Regions from separate parts of the Homo sapiens genome. Here all the other regions are linked to region 2. The links are contacts of gene promoters, found by promoter capture Hi-C in blood cells and fetal thymus (Javierre and others, 2016). All regions are on one chromosome and are shown on one strand. The core of a region is centred on a gene start or on the middle of the fragment in contact, and the rest is flanking DNA. Distances in the headings are between cores, read along the strand shown.

What was found. The method cuts DNA at HindIII sites, captures the fragments that hold promoters and counts their contacts. A CHiCAGO score of 5 or more calls a contact.
Region 1: a contact is called between the fragment with the promoter of SPAG5 here and the fragment with the promoter of DHRS13 in region 2, in 6 of 17 cell types (fetal thymus, erythroblasts, activated CD4 T cells and 3 more). The highest score is 11.7, in fetal thymus.
Region 3: a contact is called between the fragment with the promoter of ALDOC here and the fragment with the promoter of DHRS13 in region 2, in 2 of 17 cell types (non-activated CD4 T cells and fetal thymus). The highest score is 6.6, in non-activated CD4 T cells.

Annotation. Positions count from the first base shown.
Region 1 is chr17:28,597,689-28,600,494 of GRCh38, forward strand. It overlaps SPAG5 (sperm associated antigen 5), which reads right to left and starts at 1,337. Exons shown (of 24, transcript NM_006461.4): 1 at 1,208-1,337; 2 at 822-947. The coding sequence starts at 1,258. SPAG5-AS1 (SPAG5 antisense RNA 1) reads left to right here and starts at 1,445. Exons shown (of 3, transcript NR_040012.1): 1 at 1,445-1,558; 2 at 2,010-2,167. RefSeq lists enhancers at 999-1,543, 1,768-1,847 and a silencer at 1,248-1,557. The HindIII fragment of the contact is 7,511 bases long and covers 1-2,806 here.
Region 2 is chr17:28,901,728-28,904,573 of GRCh38, forward strand. DHRS13 (dehydrogenase/reductase 13) reads right to left here and starts at 1,352. Exons shown (of 5, transcript NM_144683.4): 1 at 1,091-1,352; 2 at 856-974. The coding sequence starts at 1,217. RefSeq lists silencers at 251-443, 945-1,574. The HindIII fragment of the contact is 5,010 bases long and covers 430-2,846 here.
Region 3 is chr17:28,575,162-28,578,213 of GRCh38, forward strand. It overlaps ALDOC (aldolase, fructose-bisphosphate C), which reads right to left and starts at 1,734. Exons shown (of 9, transcript NM_005165.3): 1 at 1,640-1,734; 2 at 260-383; 3 at 1-173. The coding sequence starts at 371. SPAG5 (sperm associated antigen 5) reads right to left here. Exons shown (of 24, transcript NM_006461.4): 23 at 2,849-2,929; 24 at 2,413-2,609. The coding sequence ends at 2,538. RefSeq lists a silencer at 1,667-1,906 and an enhancer at 1,957-2,136. The HindIII fragment of the contact is 1,455 bases long and covers 548-2,002 here.

The sequences.
Region 1 (2,806 bases), core at 87-2,586, 300 kb before region 2:
AATTCATATGCATGAAAATGAATAGATACGATTAATGAAATAACAAAGTCATGGTCAAAAAAGAGGAAGCAAAACTTCCTATACAGCTATAACAGTAGCTGTATGTGATGATCCAGTTTGGCCTTGAGCTTTCTAGAAGGCAGAGCAAGAGGGAAAATATGGTAAACTACATAGTTCTCATTATCAGAAAGAAAAGGATAGCAATTTCTTCAGGAAGACAATTTTTCCAGGCAGTTAGTCCTAAAGCCTTTCTTGGAGGAATCTTATACAGGAGTCAAGCTGCTTCCTTGACAAGTTTTGACAGCAACTGAAATGCAGTTTCTACATGGCTACGTCTCTCAAAACGTTTAACAAAAGTACAAATCAGTGAGGGCAATTCTGCAAGGAGCTAGTTTAAACTAAGGTGATTCAAGTACCCTACCTTCCAGTGGTGTAACTTGATCCCAGGAGAGTTCTAACTACCTCCTAGAGTAAATGGATATTGCCTCAATCTTGCAGGTGACTGACCTTTCCGTAAGTGACCCCATGTTGGAGGAAGAGCACTAATCAGGGTGGTAGGATTTCTCAATAGTTTGATAAAGGTCGAAGGGAGGAGGAGGAGGTAATAAAAACTAACAGCTAAACAGAGATTCAAGTTCTCACTGGATTTCCTTTAACCACCCTAGGGCACCTCTCTGTTGGCCTGAATAGCTGTAAATGGATGTCACCGACGTAGAAGACTTCATTATCGTTATTAATTATTGTAGCCCTGGCCCTCTGTTCCCCTGAGCTCTCACCCTGGGCAAACAGCCCAGTCGAGAAGCTGTCCAGGCGAATCTCACCTGCAGCCCCAGCTTGCACAGTGATGGGGTCAGCGAGGAGCAAGCGGGGGATCTTTTTCCAGAGTTGGTGAGGGCACCGGGCTGCAGGGTAAGTTCACGGAGAGGAGTTCTCATAGATGGTTTTCCCTGAGAAAGAAACCAAGAAAGAGGGCGAGTGTGAGGAAGCCTGGGTTCTGCCAGCCCGCCCCTCCTCCCTCCCTAAGAAGCCCAAAATGCGATTAGAAGAGTACGCTCGCACCCTAGTCGCGCAGGAGCAGCAAGGCGAACAAAGACTCCACAAGCCCCCAACCCCGGGCTCGACCCAACTTTCCAGGACAGTAGACACGGCCGGTGCCCCCGCGACAGCAGCCCGGCCCAGTTCTCTCCGCCAGAGATCTCCCGCTTACCGTCTGGGGCGAAGGCGACAGGCTGAGGCTCAGTTTTTTCACTCGCCACATCTTCAACCAGAAGGCAGGCCTATCACGTCTCAGACCAAGTCGAGGACGCCATGTTCACCCGCCGTCTGTGTTTGAACCTGCTCTGCGCTTCCTGGTTGGCTGCTTCAGGCGCGCGCGTACGCTCGGGGGTAGAGCCCGGGGGGCGGGGCCCGCGTTGACCACGCCCCCGGCCCTGCCTGCCCCTCCGTTGTCGAGCGTTTTCCGCTGACGGAGCCCTCACCTCAGACACCGGCGGTAGGGCTGGATGCGGGCCCGGCCCAGGACCGGTCTTCTGTCCTCACACCGGGGAGGACCACGCAGGTAGCTGGAGAGTCCAGGAGTCCATCCCTCCTGCTTCCAGCGGACCTCCTCACATCCATGGTGTTCATATCCAAGTTGTCTCCGTGGATGGAGAAGAGGAATCCTCTCCCTAGGTCTCCCTCAGTCCTCTCCAGCCGCAGCCTTGACGGGAAAGAGCCGGCCAGGGAGTCTAGAAGCCGAAGCGGTGCCGAGCGGCTTCCCTAGGCTTGGTGGGCCCGCGTCCGGGACGGCCCGGGCCGTGGTTCTCGACCTGGGCTGTAATGTCTCCAGAGTTTCTGGGCTTTTCCTGGGACTTACTCAGGCCGGCTACCAGTTTACTGGGCTAACCGCCTACATGTATTGAACATTGAGTGTGTGCCTGGCGCTATGCCGAATGCCGTGTAGTAGCTCATTTAATGCGCATAAGGACCTACGTAGTGAGAAATACTATAAATATCCCCATTTGTGACAGGAAGGAGCTGAGTCAGAGAGACCGTGTGTAATTTGCTCAGCGTCACACAGATAGTAAACGGCAGAGCCGCTCTTCCTCCCTGTCCCGCCAGCTCCTGCCTTCTGCTGTCTTGGATCTCCTATGCACGGGAAACCTGTTGAAGGTAGGACAGCCGAAAGGTCAGTATTCAGAGTGAGCCGTTTGCGAAGGTGTGTGTGCTTTGCACACTCACGGCGCCCTGTTTACACTCTGCAAGTCTTAATACATAGGGGGAAAGCAGCAGTCCAAAGAGGAGGAACTATGATGTTATAAACTGCAGCGTCCTCAGGGACGGGCTCCTCTAGCATTGTGTTGTCCAGTACGTTAGCCCTAGCCATAGTGGCTTTTGAGCACTTCAGATGTGACTAGTCCCAGTGGGAATGTGCTATAAATGTAAAACACTGTACAAACTGGATTTCAAACACGTCGTATGAAAAAAAGAATGCAAAATATCGCCAGGTGCGGTGGCTCATGCCTGTAATCCCAGCACGGAGGAGACAGAGGCAGGAGGATCCTTTAAGCCCAGGAGTTCGAGACCTGCCTCGGCAATATAGTGAGACCTATGTCTACAAAAAAAAAATTTGGGCCGGGCACGGTGGCTCACGCCTATAATCCCGCACTTCGGGAGGCCGAGGCAGGCGGATCACCTGAGGTCAGGAGTTCGAGACCAGCCTGCCCAACACGGCGAAACCCCGTTTCTACTAAAAATACAAAAATTAGCCAGGTGTGGTGGCACACGCCTGTAATCCCAGCTACTTGGGAGGCTGAGGCAGGAAGAA
Region 2 (2,846 bases), core at 102-2,601:
GTGTCTTAGAGTGTACTAGATAAGTGTGTGGATTCAAATCCTGACTTTGCCTTTTACTAAAGTGTGACCTTGGGCAAGATACTTAATCTCTCTGGGTCTCAGTTCTCTCACTGCGTAAAGGGAATAATAATAACAACAGTCCCAATCTCACTGAGCTTTTGTGAGGATGAAAGGAGTTAACGTGTAAAATACACTCTAGCAGCACTGGGTAGGTACTTGCTATTATTATTATCACCTCCTTTCCCCATTACCATTTACCCTAAAATCTGTAACTTCTCACTGGTCTCCTCTCTCCCGCTCTTGCCCCCCCACTCCAGGCACCACGCAGCCACAAAGGAGTTCCTTCCAAAGGCTATTCTGACAGTCCGGAGCCTACTGAGGGCTGTTCATGGTCTCCACTGGTCTCTGCTGCCCAATCTATAAAATCCAAGCTTCTCAATAGGCTCTAGAATGTTCTCCAGCCCCCTCATTTGCCCATCTTCCTCATACTTTGTGCTCCAGCCTCATTAAATCTTTTTCTCAGTTTTTCAGATCAGTCCAGCTCTCTTTGCCTCAGAGCCTTTGCTTATGCTGTGCCCTCTGCTGTTCCCTTTCCTACTGATCATTAACCCAACTTCTACTGATGCTTAAACGTCTCAGAACTGCAATTACGGCCTTCAGGAAGCCCCTCCCCCACTCGGCTCTGGTGCGCCTTCCTCGGGTGACCCCAGCGCTCCGTGCACTCCCTCTTCGCGCTCAGCCGCCCGCGCCGCGCTCTCCTCCCTGGACCCGGATCCTCCGCAGCCCCTTTGCTGGCTTCTCTGTGTCCCGGCGGGTTCTCGGCTCACCGTCCCACGCGCCCCCGCTGCCTCTCACCTGGCGGAGGTCGAAGGCAGCCGCCTCCCCGCGCTCCTGGCTGCGGCAGGCCAGCACCACGCGCGCTCCCCGGCGCGCCAGCTCCAGCGCCGTCATCTTTCCGATGCCGCTGTTGGCGCCTGCGGACCGCGGGCGGGAGCCGAGCTGAGCTGAGCCCGGCGGGCCGCTGCTACCGCCGGCCCGGCCTCCTCTCCGCGCGCCCCGCCAGCTCGCACTCACCCGCCTCCGCACTCACCCGTGACCACGGCCGTGCGGCCCCGCAGGTTGCCCATGCCGCCGCACGGCGGGGCCTTCACCAGGTTGTAGTAGACAAGCACGTAAGCGCCCAGCAGCAACCCCGCGCCCAGCAGCAGCGCCTCCATGCCGGCCGCGCCTCCCGGCTCCCGCCCAGGCCCCGCACCGCCCTGGATCGCCGCCAGGCGGCTGCCGATCCGCCCTGCACAGGCCTGGAACGGCGCCCGGGCGCGTCAGCCTCCGAAGGCGGAGGCGGGCAGGAGGCTGGGCAGGGGCGTGTGCGCGTGCGGGTGCGCGCCGGCCCTGCGAGCGCCCCCTAGGCGTGCGTCGGCGTCCTGGGGGCGTGTGCCTCTGTGGACACCTTTGAGGTGAGTGTGTGCGCTTGGGCCCTGGGAGCGCCCCCTAGGTGTGTGCCTGTGTGAACTCCTGGGTGTGTGTGTCCACGTACACCCTGTGAGTGCACGCTAGGTATGTGCATGCATCTGCAACGCTTGTATGTGAATGATCTCTAGGTGTGTATGTGCCCATGTCCCTGAGGATCACCCTTTGGGTTGTGTGCGTGCCTCTGGATCCTGTGTGTGAGCTCCTGTAAGCACCTTGTAGGTGTTTGTGTGCATTCTGGCAGAGTCCCTCCAGGTATGTGCCTGCATCTGTAGTCTCTGCCAGTGCATGTGCTTGCATATCTCCATATGTTTACTCGAGGTGTATGTAGCACAGTCCCTCCCTTCTGAAGTTAGGTGTGTACATGAATACACGTGTGTCTTTGAGTCTAGTCCTAGATGCTTTTCCCTCTAAGAACAAATCCTTCTCCTTCCTTCCCTTCTGCACAAATCCTTCTCCTTTCCTTCCTTTCCTTTCCTTCCTTCCTTCCTTCCTTCCTTCCTTCCCTTCCTTCCTTCCTCCCTTCCTTCCTTCCTTCCTTCCCTCCCTCCCTTCCTTCCTTCTTTCCTTTCTTTCTTTCTTTTGAGACGGAGTTTCACTCTCGTTGCCCAGGCTGGAGTGCAGTGGCGTGATCCCGGCTCACTGCAACCTCCGCTTCCCGGGTTCAAGCAATTCTCCTGCCTCAGAATCCAGAGTAGCTGGGATCACAGGTGTGTGACACCACACCCGGCTAATTTTTGTATTTTAGTAGAGAAGGGTTTTCACTATGTTGGCCAGGTTGGTCTCAAACTTCTGACCTTAAGTGACCCACCTGCCTCAGCCTCTCAAAGTGCTGGGATTACAGGTGTGAGCCTCTGCACTGGGCCAAATCCTTCGTTTTCTTATCTTCACATCCAGCCCCCAGCTTCTAGGATTCTTCCGTGTTCTCCCCACACAGGCTAGAGAGGACACTGTTAAAGGTGGCACAGGCAGTTAAGGGGTGTCAGAATTCACTCCTTCATTCCCCCTCTGTATCTCCCTACCTCAACCCCACTAGTGCCTTCCATGGCTGAAGGGAAGCAGGAAGAGATAGAGAGTAAAATCTGTTATTGCCTTTCAGGAGGAAATTTGCCTTTGGAATGGTTCTCATAGGTGATAAGAGACAGGCAGAGAAGCTCCATCACTCAATTACAAGTGACCATGATGGCAGGAAGGGTGGGGCTGGCTAGGAACAAATGGGTAAGACCATTCCAGGGCAGAAGGCCGTTGCCTGATACATTCAGTACAATTTAGAACCTGGTATTTGGCACTTATGGTGTGCCCAGCAGTGTAGTTAGACTTGGAAATTCCGAGTGGAAGATATACAAGTTTCTGTCCTTAGGGAGTTCAAAAAGCCC
Region 3 (3,052 bases), core at 484-2,983, 330 kb before region 2:
GACGAAGGGAACACCATTATCATCTTTCTGGTAGAGGGTCTCATGGAAGAAAATGACGCCTCCAATGCACTTTTTCACACGGTCATCAGCACTGAACAGGACCTGGCGGTACAGCCGGCGGTTCTCCTCTGTGTTTTCCACCCCAATTTGGCTCAGCCGCTTGGCCATGCTGCCTAGGGGCAAACAAAGAGAGGCAGTGAGAACATCCCCAGGGTCCCCTAGCCACCTGTACCCTACCTGGCTACAGATGTCCACTTACCTACAGACTCATCCGCAGCCAGAATGCCTTTGCCCGGGGCTACAATCCGCAGGGCAATGTCAGACAACTCCTTCTTCTGCTCAGCAGAAAGGGCTGGGTACGAGTGAGGCATGGTGACAGCTCCCTGGAGTGGAGACAAGATAAAAAAGCCAGACCTCACCCTCTGCTGCCTCTCCTGGCCAGATGGGCCAAATGGCCTCCCCATCAAGCAAGGGGCTGGGAACAGGGCAGCAGTCCTTGGCATGAGTCCTGGGCATCAAGTGGCACCAGTCCTTCTGACAGCTAGCAAGCTTAGGGCTCCAGTTCCCACATCTCCTTTTGTCCCTGGTAGGCATCCTTCCCAGCCCTGGGGAAAGATGCAGGGTGGGGGTGGGGAGGTGAGCAGCCCTGAAGCCACAGCTCTTCTGATAAATCTGCTGCCCAATCAAGGATGCCAACCCTTCTTTCACTGAACTTGGTCCCTTGTTGAGGTAGGCAAAAGTCCTGGCCTTTCCAGCTTCCCTTTTCTCATCCTCCACAGGACCCCTAGGGAAAGTGTACTTACTTCCAAGGCTTCAGAATGAGGCAAAAGTACTTATTGCCACCCTCTTCTCTCAGCTTCTAGAGGAAAAGGTTGGAAGAACAGGTAGGGAGTAGGAGTGGCACAAATACCAGTCACAGGCTCCTGCAGCTTCTCCTTTTCTGTACTCCAAACCTGCCTGCCTATGCCTATTGCCTATTCCCACCCAGTACCAGAGGTTGGCCCCAGTGGGGCTGCAGTGATGTAGGAAAGAGGGCCCAGCGGGTCAGCTGTGTTAGTGTGTGGAGACTAGGGCTAGTGACACCTCCGGGTCATCTCTGTGCCCAGGAAGCACTTCACCTGTTTGGCAGGAGGATAGCAATAGGAAGCACTTCAATTCCCCACAACTCAGACACCCAGACGGGAGGGCAGAGGACCAAGGCTGAAAGGAGTAGAGAGCCTGAGAGAGAGATGAGACTGAGGGGAGCTAGTGGTGATGCAGGCTAACCAGTCAGCGGGAGAGACCTAGACCGGGGGGCAGAGAAGGCGGGAGAACTGGAGAGAGGACCTAGCCTAGGAGGAGAGGGAGCAGGCTGAGAAGGAAATGCTCTGGGTAGGAGAGACAGACTCCAAGGAAAAATCCAACAAGTAGAGGAGGATTTGGGATTGGAAAAGCTGAGGTCCAGCTGGGAGAGCTGAAGAGGGATAGAACAGAAGAGGTTGAGCCATGGGGTTTCAAGTACGCGGAAAGGAGCAAAGATGTTAGGAAAGGGTCGAAAGGGCACATCCCGGAGTCCCAGGTAGCAGGACGAGGATGGCAGGGGAAGAGCCAAGGAAATGAAGCGGAGATGTTGAGTGGCTCCCGCCTTGCCTGGCCTTACCTGTGCGCAGCCAGTTAGCAGCCGCAGCCACAAGCACAGCTCGGGTTCTGATCCGCAAACAGATGAGGCTGCAGCCCTGGCTCCCTCTGGTAAATGAGGCTGCGGATGTCGCAGAGCTACGTGACTCCTCCGGGGGCGTGGCCTGCATGCCCCGCCCTGACCACACCCCCTCCCCAGGACTGGTGTCCGGGGCAAGACCACGCCCTCAGAGGCGGGGCGGCGAGGTGGAGTGAGCGCCCCGCCAGGCATCCGTGGCTGTTAGGGACTGCCCTCCCACCTCGGGGAGCCTGGCCATGACCTTGCGTTCATTTCTGCCACAATCCCTTTACCACGTGCCGGGCACTTGCTGGATGCTGGGGATTAAGCTTAGTCTGGTGAAGAGGAGGCACCAGAACAGTAACAACAGGTTGAGTAGGTGGGGCAGAAGCATCTTCAAGGTGCCCAAGTTCAGGGCAGGAAGTAATGAACTGAGCTTCTCTGTCCTCACCCCCATATTTGCCAGGGTATACCCCCGAGGGGGCTGGGGAAAGTAAGAGAATGAAGCCTTTCTGTTTCCTCCAGGCGGTGAGCCAGGGAACAAGCAGTCCAGTGCCCAGAGTTTTGGTGAAAGCAGAGGAAGGGAGGAAGGGCAGGCAGCCTTGGCTTTGGATGCAGCAGGAGGTGGAGAGGGATCTATGGAGGGTGCCCAGGCAGGAGGCCCAAGCTGCTTCTTCCCTGACTTCATCATCCGCCCCCTCTCACCCAAAAAGTAAGATTCCGTAAGCTTGGAGAAATTCATTAAATACACTTTATTTAAATAGCATTTATCTCAGTTGGCTCTATGCCAGTTGGTCTTGGTATTGGGGTAAGGGGGTATTGCAGGTAAAAAGAGGTGAAGCAGATTCTGGCTTTCAGTTTCTTAGCTCAGAAATTCCAGCAATCCCTGTAGTTCTTTGCATCCCCTCACCACCTCTGGAATAGAGAGCAGGGTCTGGGAAGAGAGGCAGAAAACGCAGCTCAGGACCACAGACTTAAGGCCCAGGGCTCCCAGCCCCAGGAGGCAGCCGCTGAATTAGAGGGGAGAAAACAGACACCACAGAGAAGCCTGCAATAGTGATTCAGGCCCAGCTCTCAGCACAGGCTGGGAACCAGATCTGTGCTCATTAGTACCTCCTGGGGCCAGGCCTTGTACCAGGTTCATTAGTGATATCACCTCCCTCCTGCCTATACCTTATAAATATGCTGAACAATGTCATCTAGTTTTTCTAACTCCTTGTCAGAGCGCCGAAGGTTCTCCTCTAGGATATTTCTCTAGAAAGCAAACAGATTTTATAAGTCCTATGCATAAAAGAGCAAACTTGGTAGGACAGGGGAAACATGGCGGGGCATTTGTTAACGATGGTAGGAAATGGCCCTGGAATGGCATGGACATTC